Linked DNA regions of Homo sapiens: regions 1 and 3 are each linked to region 2. Evidence: promoter capture Hi-C in 16 types of primary human blood cells and fetal thymus (Javierre and others, 2016). All regions are on one chromosome and are shown on one strand. Each heading gives the region's core, a stretch centred on a gene start or on the middle of the fragment in contact. The rest is flanking DNA. Distances are from core to core; before and after follow the strand shown.

What was found. Contacts are between HindIII fragments. The CHiCAGO score rates a contact against its expected background, and 5 or more counts as called.
Region 1: a contact is called between the fragment with the promoter of TNNI1 here and the fragment with the promoter of CACNA1S in region 2, in 1 of 17 cell types (M1 macrophages). The highest score is 5.4, in M1 macrophages.
Region 3: a fragment that was not itself captured here is called in contact with the fragment with the promoter of CACNA1S in region 2 in 1 of 17 cell types (total CD4 T cells); the score reaches 5.2 in total CD4 T cells.

What each region holds. Positions count from the first base shown.
Region 1 is chr1:201,420,319-201,423,176 of GRCh38, reverse strand. It overlaps TNNI1 (troponin I1, slow skeletal type), which reads left to right and starts at 1,447. Exons shown (of 9, transcript NM_003281.4): 1 at 1,447-1,504. The HindIII fragment of the contact is 15,457 bases long and covers 1-2,858 here.
Region 2 is chr1:201,111,167-201,113,866 of GRCh38, reverse strand. CACNA1S (calcium voltage-gated channel subunit alpha1 S) reads left to right here and starts at 1,441. Exons shown (of 44, transcript NM_000069.3): 1 at 1,441-1,679. The coding sequence starts at 1,528. The HindIII fragment of the contact is 9,593 bases long and covers 1-2,700 here.
Region 3 is chr1:200,605,263-200,607,992 of GRCh38, reverse strand. It overlaps KIF14 (kinesin family member 14), which reads left to right. Exons shown (of 30, transcript NM_014875.3): 6 at 1,195-1,247; 7 at 2,099-2,129; 8 at 2,603-2,710. Among named protein-coding and RNA genes, the nearest start is that of KIF14, 14 kb to the left of the region's middle. The HindIII fragment of the contact is 1,924 bases long and covers 398-2,321 here.

The DNA.
Region 1 (2,858 bases), core at 198-2,697, 310 kb before region 2:
GGAAAGTTATTGTATAAATTATAATAAGCCAAGGCAATAAACTCCAGTAGGCTCATCTGCAAAGCCCCTAAATTCCTTCTCCCCTCTAGCTGCTCCTTTTGGCTGGAGCCTGCCTTCATTATCCATCACAGCCTCTCCACTTGGAATCCTATGTCCCCAACCCCTATGCCTCCCCAGACCCTGTCATTTCTCCCTGGCAGCCGTCTCACATAGAGGCTTCTCAAAGTTGACCCGACCAGAACAGAATTAGAGCAACCTCTATTAGGCAGCAGAATGTCGTTGTAGAGAGGGCAGGGCCTTTACCTCTGTGGGCACTGGGGTGTGTCTCCTTAGGACACCCCTGCCCATTACTCTCTCCTTCTCCAAATGGGGAGCATGGCTGGGGCTCCCTAACCTCCTGCTTGCGAGGCCTCTCTCTGGCCTCTGAGAGGGTCAGTGTCCTGCCCCAACCCATGAGATGACAGACTATAATAGCCACAGGATTAACATAGCAGGCATTGTCTTTCTCTGACTATAGGGTGGGTATTATGTGTTCATCAACCATCCTAAAAATACCCGGTAAACAGGTGCAGCCCCTGTGGCTCCAGTCCCCTGGGATCTGTTGGCTTCTGGCTGGAGATGAAGATTAGGGCAGAGGAGAGGTGAATTAGTCTCACTGAGTTCCAGGCATGAGACTCGGGTGTCCTTTGGAACCTGGGAAATCTAGATTCCAGGAAACCCATCTGGAGGGGGATGCAGAGTGTCTGCAGACCCTCAGACCTCCCTGAGCATAAAGGTGTGCCCTGCTGCCACTGCCATTCTGCTCAGCCCTGGAAACACTCACTGGGGTCAGCCTGCAACACTGCTCACATCACTCCCCACAGCCAGGCACCCTCGTATCCCACGTGCACCAGAGCCACTGAAAAATCCCTGAAAGCTGAGTCTTTAGCCCTCTTGGGCTTTTGGGGCATGGGTTCAGGGGCCTCATTTCCATATTGCCTTATAAGAGATGCAGGGTTAGCCCAATGGTCCTCTTCCCCCAGCTGCTACTTGCCCCTCTGGGCCTTCACTGTGGCCCTTTGCTCTCCCTCATTCCCCCTCCCAGTCCCATCTCTGCTCAGTCCCCACACCTGGTCTGGCTGCTCATTCTTTCCCTTTCTGCAGCTCGAGTCTCCCCAGGTGGGTGCTGGTTTCACTCAGTTGGTGGCACCTATGTGCACAGAATTTGCCTCTGCTCCTGAGCCACAAATTCACATGGCTTTCCGCCTATGTGCCTGTTGTGTGCATTGCAGCACGCATCTGCCCTGTGAGGTGTGTGTGTGTGTGTGTGTGTGTGTGTGTGTGTGTGTGTGTGTGAAGGGTGGGAGGGAGGAGGGGCAGCAGGAGGGGGCAGTGGGTCTGTTCTATTTTTACCAGCCAGTTGCTGCTGGACACAGTTTTCATAGCCTCCCCTCGGCTCTGCCCCTCACAGTCTGCAGTCTACGGCGAGGCACAGGCCAGCCCAGCTCCACGAGGACTGAACAAGGTAAGCGTCTGCAGCCCAGAACTTCAGATGTAGGTTGATCCCAGGCAGAGAACCTGGGGCTTTTGTTTAAGGAGAAAGCGAGGTCTTGGAGCTGGAGAAAACCATTTCTTGCCTGTGCAGTTGGTTTGTTGGTAGAACATTCCTAAAATACTCCCACAGCATTTTGTCCCACAGAATGGCATCTCTCCTGCAAAACTGTTGTGAGAGGTGAAACTTTTTCCTGGCCATTTGGAGGCTGTGAGCAAGGAGCAGAATCTTCCGTGAGGTTCCTTAGGAGCCCCAGGGCAGAGCCTAAGGGATGATGTTTTCACACAGGATGCCCAGCAGAGTGTGGGAGGGAGAGCGCACCCAGGGGAAGGGGTGGCCCTGGGATCAGAGAGCCAGGGTGAGTGCTCAAAGTCAGCAATGCCTGCAGCGGAAGAGAAGGAGGGTGCCTGACGCGCAGGACTCCCAGGGAGCCTAGAAGGCAGGGCCAGAGCTCCCTGCTGGCCAAGGAAACCATCTTGCTTCTGTGTTCTTTGTCTCTGAGCGACGCTGTTAGCTCCCTTTGCCTATCCCTCTGTAGTGTAGCACAAGAGCAGAGGAGGGCAGACCGGCAACCCCTCTTGACTGCTCCTGCTCAGAGCTCCTGGCTCTGAGAAGCAGCAGTAGATACTGGGGGTCCTCTTGGAGGAAGGCAATGGTGGCGGCATTTTGGGTTGGGGCACAGGAGCCAGTGAACACATAAGCCAGGGCAGTATCTACAGGGTAACCCAAGGCTTGGGGCAGGGGGCCGTGTGGCGGTCCCTGACTCAGGTGGGGGCTGAAGGCAGCACCTGCCACCAGGTTTGGGAGTCACAGTCCCACAGCAGCTCTGAGATTAGGCTTTGCTGTTCAGAACTCAAGATGGGGGCAGCCCAGCGCCATGCACTTGGGAGTGTTAACCGTCAGTCAAGGAAGACAGGGATGCCCTTGAATGGGGGTCCAAGGTCAGGGGGCGGGGAGCAGGGGGAAGCACATGAGCCTAACTAGATACTTGTGGACGTGATCATTGGGTGTGCAAAGAGATCAGTTCTTTCCCCTACATATACACGCTCTCTCTCTCACACTCACACTCTCACACACAGTCACTTACACACACTTACACACACAGACTCAATCTCATAGTCTAGCGGATAGTCCCTTCCACGCTGCAAAGCCTCAAGGAAGGGAAAGCCCAGCTCTGAGGCAACCACCAGAGACTCTTTGCTCCCCCCCTCGGGGGGAGGATTTTCTCATTATCTCCTTGCTTGCTACTTGTAGAGGAGATGGAATCCTGGCTCTCCAAGCCTTCCAGTGGCTGCTATCTTCATCCTGACTTATCAGTCCTCGCTTG
Region 2 (2,700 bases), core at 192-2,691:
TATGTGGGGTTCGCTGTTAGCTCAGCACATTTAAGATTCAGTGTTGTTAGCTCAGGCGTTCAATGAATTTTTTTTTTTTTTTTTTTTTTTTTGAGACAGGTTTTGCTCTGTTGCCCAGACTGGAGTGCAGTGATTCAATCCCTGCTCACTGCAACCTCCTTCTCCTGGGTTTGAGCAATTCTCCTGCCTCAGCCTCCAGAGTAGCTGGGATTATAGGTGCACACCACCACGCCCGCTAATCTTTGGTATTTTTAGTAGAATGCGGGTTTCACCATGTTGGCCATGCTGGTCTCGAATTCCTCACCTCAAGTTATCTACCTACCTTGGTTTCCCAAAGTGCTGGGATTACCGTGGCTATCCTCAATGAACTTTTCTTTTTGAGACAAGGTCTCACTCTGTCTCACTCTGTCATCCAGGCTGGAGTGCAGTGGCCAGATCTTGGCTCATTGCAGCCTCAACCTCCCAGGCTCAACTGATCCTCCCACCTTGGCCCCCCTAGTAGCTGGGACTACAAACACACACCACCATACCCTGCTAATTTTTGTATTTTTTGTAGAGACAGAGTTTCACTACGTTGCCCCGACTGGTCTTGAAGTCCTGAGCTCAAGCCATTCTCCCACCTCAGCCTCCCAAAGTGTTGGGATTACAGGCGTGAGCCACCATGCCTGGCCTCAGTGAACATTTACAGGGAGCATAGTACATAGGGGGACTGTGCAGAGAAGGGGCCAGAGTCCCAGAGATAATGCACACAACCTTTACACCTGTAGGGATGGGAGGAGATGGGGAAGAAAGATACACAGCAGATGCTCCACAGTGAGGCAGGTGCTATGCCAGAGGTGTGCACACTCAGGGTTGTTCTGGGAGCCTTCTAGCCCACTGGAGAGGGGTTTACTGTTTCTCTGACATGGGATTGCTTGTGGGGGTGGGTTGAGGGTATGCTTGGGGAGTTTTGGCTGATGGTGCAGATACTGAGATGGGTAGGGGCTGCTGTGGAGCTGTCCTGACTTAGGCTGCCCAGTGCCTTCTCCAGACAATGTCATGGGGCTGAGGAGGGGTAAGCCTAATTTTGGCATGAGGGGGCCACTCTGCAGTTTGAGGTTCCATATCCAAGGCTACCTATTCCTGACCTCTGTTGCCCCAGGCTTGAAACCTTCCATCCTGTCTCCCTCTCCCACTGCCCCTGCCCCATCCCAGGCCTGTGTGTAAGTTCTTCCCCCGACCCACCCCACCCTCCTCAGGGGACAGATTGGGAAGTCACTGGCTGGGCTGGGTGGAATGACAGCTGCCTGGCCTCAGAAGCTCAGGCCCGGCAGCGGGGAGCCGAGTGGAGGCTAATTTTACTTGCTGGGAGCGAGGAGAGTAATCCTCCTGCCCCCACTCCTGCCCCCGCCCCCTGGCTGGCTCAGCAGGGCAGGCTCAGCCGACAGCCTCAGCCAGCCTAGTCCCCAAGGCGGGGGCATTGGGGACACAGGGAAGGGAAAGCACTGGGGTGGGGGAGCAGGAGAAAGCCAGATTCCCAGGGAAGCCATGGAGCCATCCTCACCCCAGGATGAAGGCCTGAGGAAGAAACAGCCCAAGAAGCCAGTTCCTGAGATTCTGCCAAGGCCACCCCGGGCCTTGTTCTGCCTGACCCTGGAGAACCCCCTGAGGAAGGCCTGCATCAGCATTGTAGAATGGAAGTATCCTTCAGGGCCCGGGCCGTGGGGGGGGGTGTGCGTCATGAGGGAGGGATTCGGGGTGATCACAGAGCACAAACTTCCTACAGGAGGGCCAGGGAGGCCTGGCACTTAGACATGGGGTGAACTCACAGAATTGAGTGAGGAGCTGGGGGAAGGAGCCCTCGGCTAAGCAGGAGAGGAGGAGGAGGAAGAGGAGGAAGACGAGGAGGGTGGGGGAGGAGGAGGAAGAGGAGGAGGGTGGGGGAGGAGGAGGAAGAGGAGGAGGAGGAAGAGGAAGAGAAGGAGGACTTGGTGGGGCTTCCTGGGCCTGAGTGGGCCACCCAAGTCCTGGATGACAACCAGAGATGCCTACTGACCACCTATGGGTGGGGCCTGTTTCATGGGGACTGTTCCCATGTGTGCCCAAATCCACATTATCATGGGGTGCCACTAGGTTTTTGAAGCACCAGCCTCATTTTAGAATAGGATAGGGACCAAAAAAAGATGCGATGGCCTCTTTGAGAAAACTCTCCCTTGTTTGGGTTGGGTGGGGGGTGACAGTGGACAGAGGTGAGCTGAAGGAAGGCTTCCTCTGGGGGCAGGTCCCAGCTGAGGACAGAGCCAAGGGGAGAAATGGATCTGAAAGACACCTGGTCTCAGTGGCTCCAAGACACAGGCCAAACAAGCCTGGTTGTTCTAGCTCAGACGTGCCACCCTGGGGACAGGGACTTTGAAACTCATGCTATGTTTGCATTTGCTCTGGTGGGGAGAATGATGAAAATATCTGGGTTATTTGGGGAAGGGAGGAAGGAGTGACAGAGAGAAGGGGAGGGCTGTGTCAAGTGGGTTCTGAGAGCGAGGGTGGGGCATATTTGAAATATTTCTGAAGAGTTCTGGAAGGCTGGGCTCCTACCAGCTGTTCCCTAGAAGGAAGGAGAATGAGGGATAACTGGAAGGACAAGAGAAACGTGGGGCAAGTAGAGATAGTTTGGGGTCAGGGTCAGCCCTGTTCCCCTGACCCGCTCTCGGCCAGGCGGTATAT
Region 3 (2,730 bases), core at 110-2,609, 510 kb after region 2:
GCGTGTTGGCTCACACCTGTAATCACAGCACTTTGGGAGGTCAAGGCAGGTGGATCACTAGGTCAAGAGATGGAGACCATCCTGGCCAACATGGTGAAACCCTGTCTCTACTAAAAATACAAAAATTAGCTTGGCATGGTGGCGCGTGCCTGTAGTCCCAGCTACTCAGGAGGCTGATGCAGGAGAATCGCTTGAACCCGGGGGCAGAGGTTTCAGTGAGCCGAGATTTCACCACCGCACTCCAGCCTGGCGACAGAGCAAGACTCCATTTCAAGAAAAAAAAGGAAGTCAGCTGTCTTCTTCACTTGCCCATGTTTGTGCAGTTTACTATTGGCAACATCAAGAAACTTAAACAAAACTTGACATTTGCTTCTATGATTTCTATATGTTTAAAGCTTCTGGTCACAAAGTTGAAAATGTATAATGTAACAATAAAGAAAAATTTTAATGTCTGAAATTTAACGAATATGTTTTAGAGAGCATTTAAAAGTATATAAATCATAGCTACTGCAAGATTTAACATTCAAATGTCTTACTGAAAAACTAGGAAGACAAGCTGGGTACGGTGGCTGACGCCTGCAATCCCAGTACTTTGGGAGGCTGAGGTGGGCGGATCACTTGAGGTCAGGAGTTCCCGACCAGCCTAGCCAACATGGTGAAACTCCTTCTCTACTGAAAATACAAAAGTTAGCTGGTGTGGTGGCACTGTCTTGTAATCTCAGCTACTCAGAAGGCCGAGGTAGGAGAATCGCTTGAACCCAGGAGGCAGAGGTTGCACTGAGCCAAGATTGCACCACTGTACTCCAGCCTGGGCCACAGAGCAGGACTCTGTCTCAAAACAGACAAACAAACAAACAAAAAACTAGTAAGACATCTGATGCTAAAATATATTGTTCTAATTATTGTCTATTAGACAATTCTAATAGCAGTTTTTTAAGAATAAAAAAACTAGTAAGACTTGATGCTACAATATATTGTTGCATATTGTGCTACTATGAACAGTTTTTTATATTGAAGCTGTTTCCTAATGCCTTACAGATTTGTTTTTGTGAGAGTTTTTGTGGTTTTTTTTTTTCCTGGATAAAATAAAGACAAATCTCTTACCTTAAACTCAAGATGTAGAAAAAGTGATCATTTCAAGTTACATGAAATATTTGTCATACTCCTAATGATGCATGTATTTGCTTCTTCTAGCTGAGAGTGAGGGAACATCCTGTTTATGGACCATATGTTGAAGCACTGTCAATGTAAGTATTTGGCTCAGCAAGGGCAAAGAGGATAAAACAAATGAATAGAGTGAATGTTACTCTCCCATAATCTTTATTGTATTCTCATTGGCCTTCCTAACTTTGAAACCCTGGGTAACTATTTATTTAGCCTTCTACCCTTGATATTGTCCAATTAGGTTTTCCCTCTCTTTCCATAGAGTGTTAGTTACTTGTTTTAATACTTGCATGTGTCTTTCATAGTACCTGTAAAGTGTCTGCCATGGAGTATTCATTATACTATGAAGTAAATATTTGCTTTTTCTTTCTTTTACCCCTTCCTTTCACTATTAATTTAATCTTCCCTCTCAACCTGCTTTTTATACCTATGACTCTAAGCTAGACAGGGAAGAGGGTACTAAGAAGAGTTAAGAGTTTGATGCATGCTAGGAGTCATTTACTTTTTTTTCCAACACTGCAAATGCTTTCTTAAAGGAAAGGAAAAGTTATTAAGTATTAACTCAGCTGCATTTAATACATCTGGGATTGTATTGGGACCCATATACACCCACATATAAATATACCTATGCATATACATATGTGTTAAAGTATATCTTTTGGTATTGTGACTTAGACTTGAATATTAAGATGCTAAGGTGCTTCATTGTATTAAGAAAAATCATACTTTTTGTTAAAATTAAAGCATTATTTTATTTCCTGTCCTTCAAGAATGGGGAAAATAAAAGATTCTGGGAGAATCAATAAAATAATATTCATGAATTAGTCCATTGTGATCTTCAGCGTAAATATGTAATTGAAATGTTATTGTTTTATGAGAACAAGAGTATAATCATCAGTAAAATTGATTTTGTCTTTTCACTTCTTAAAAATAGGAACATTGTCAGTTCTTACGCTGATATCCAGGTAAGATTGATTTTGTTTTCTTTTCACTAGATAGAAAGAGCATAATCCTAAATATTTATAAGAATATTTTTTCTTAATTGCTGTTTTACAAATAAAAGGTTAGTTTCCTTAATTTATCACAAACCGATTTTGTTAAGTTTTAATCAAAATAATTGCTCTTCTTTATTAAAAATGTTGACCTTCATGTAAGCTTAGAGTTATGGAAACAGCCTTTTAAAGTTATTATTTCCTGCCTCAGATTTCTATGACAGAAAAAAAGGCAATGGGAATACAAATTATTAAAAGATAAATATTTACTCATTTCATTTTATAAATTAATTACAAATGTGTATATGTTATCTCTCTTAATTTTTATATCATTGAGTTACAGTCTGCTGATCTGAATTACAAATGTGTATATGTTGTCTCTCTTAATTTTTATATCATTGAGTTACAGTCTGCTGATCTGATCTTCCTTCCTTTTTTCTTATAAGAGTTGGCTAGAATTGGGAAATAAACAAAGAGCTACTGCTGCTACTGGTATGAATGATAAAAGTTCCCGATCTCATTCAGTTTTCACCCTGGTGATGACCCAGACCAAGGTATTTTTTTTAAAAGTTCC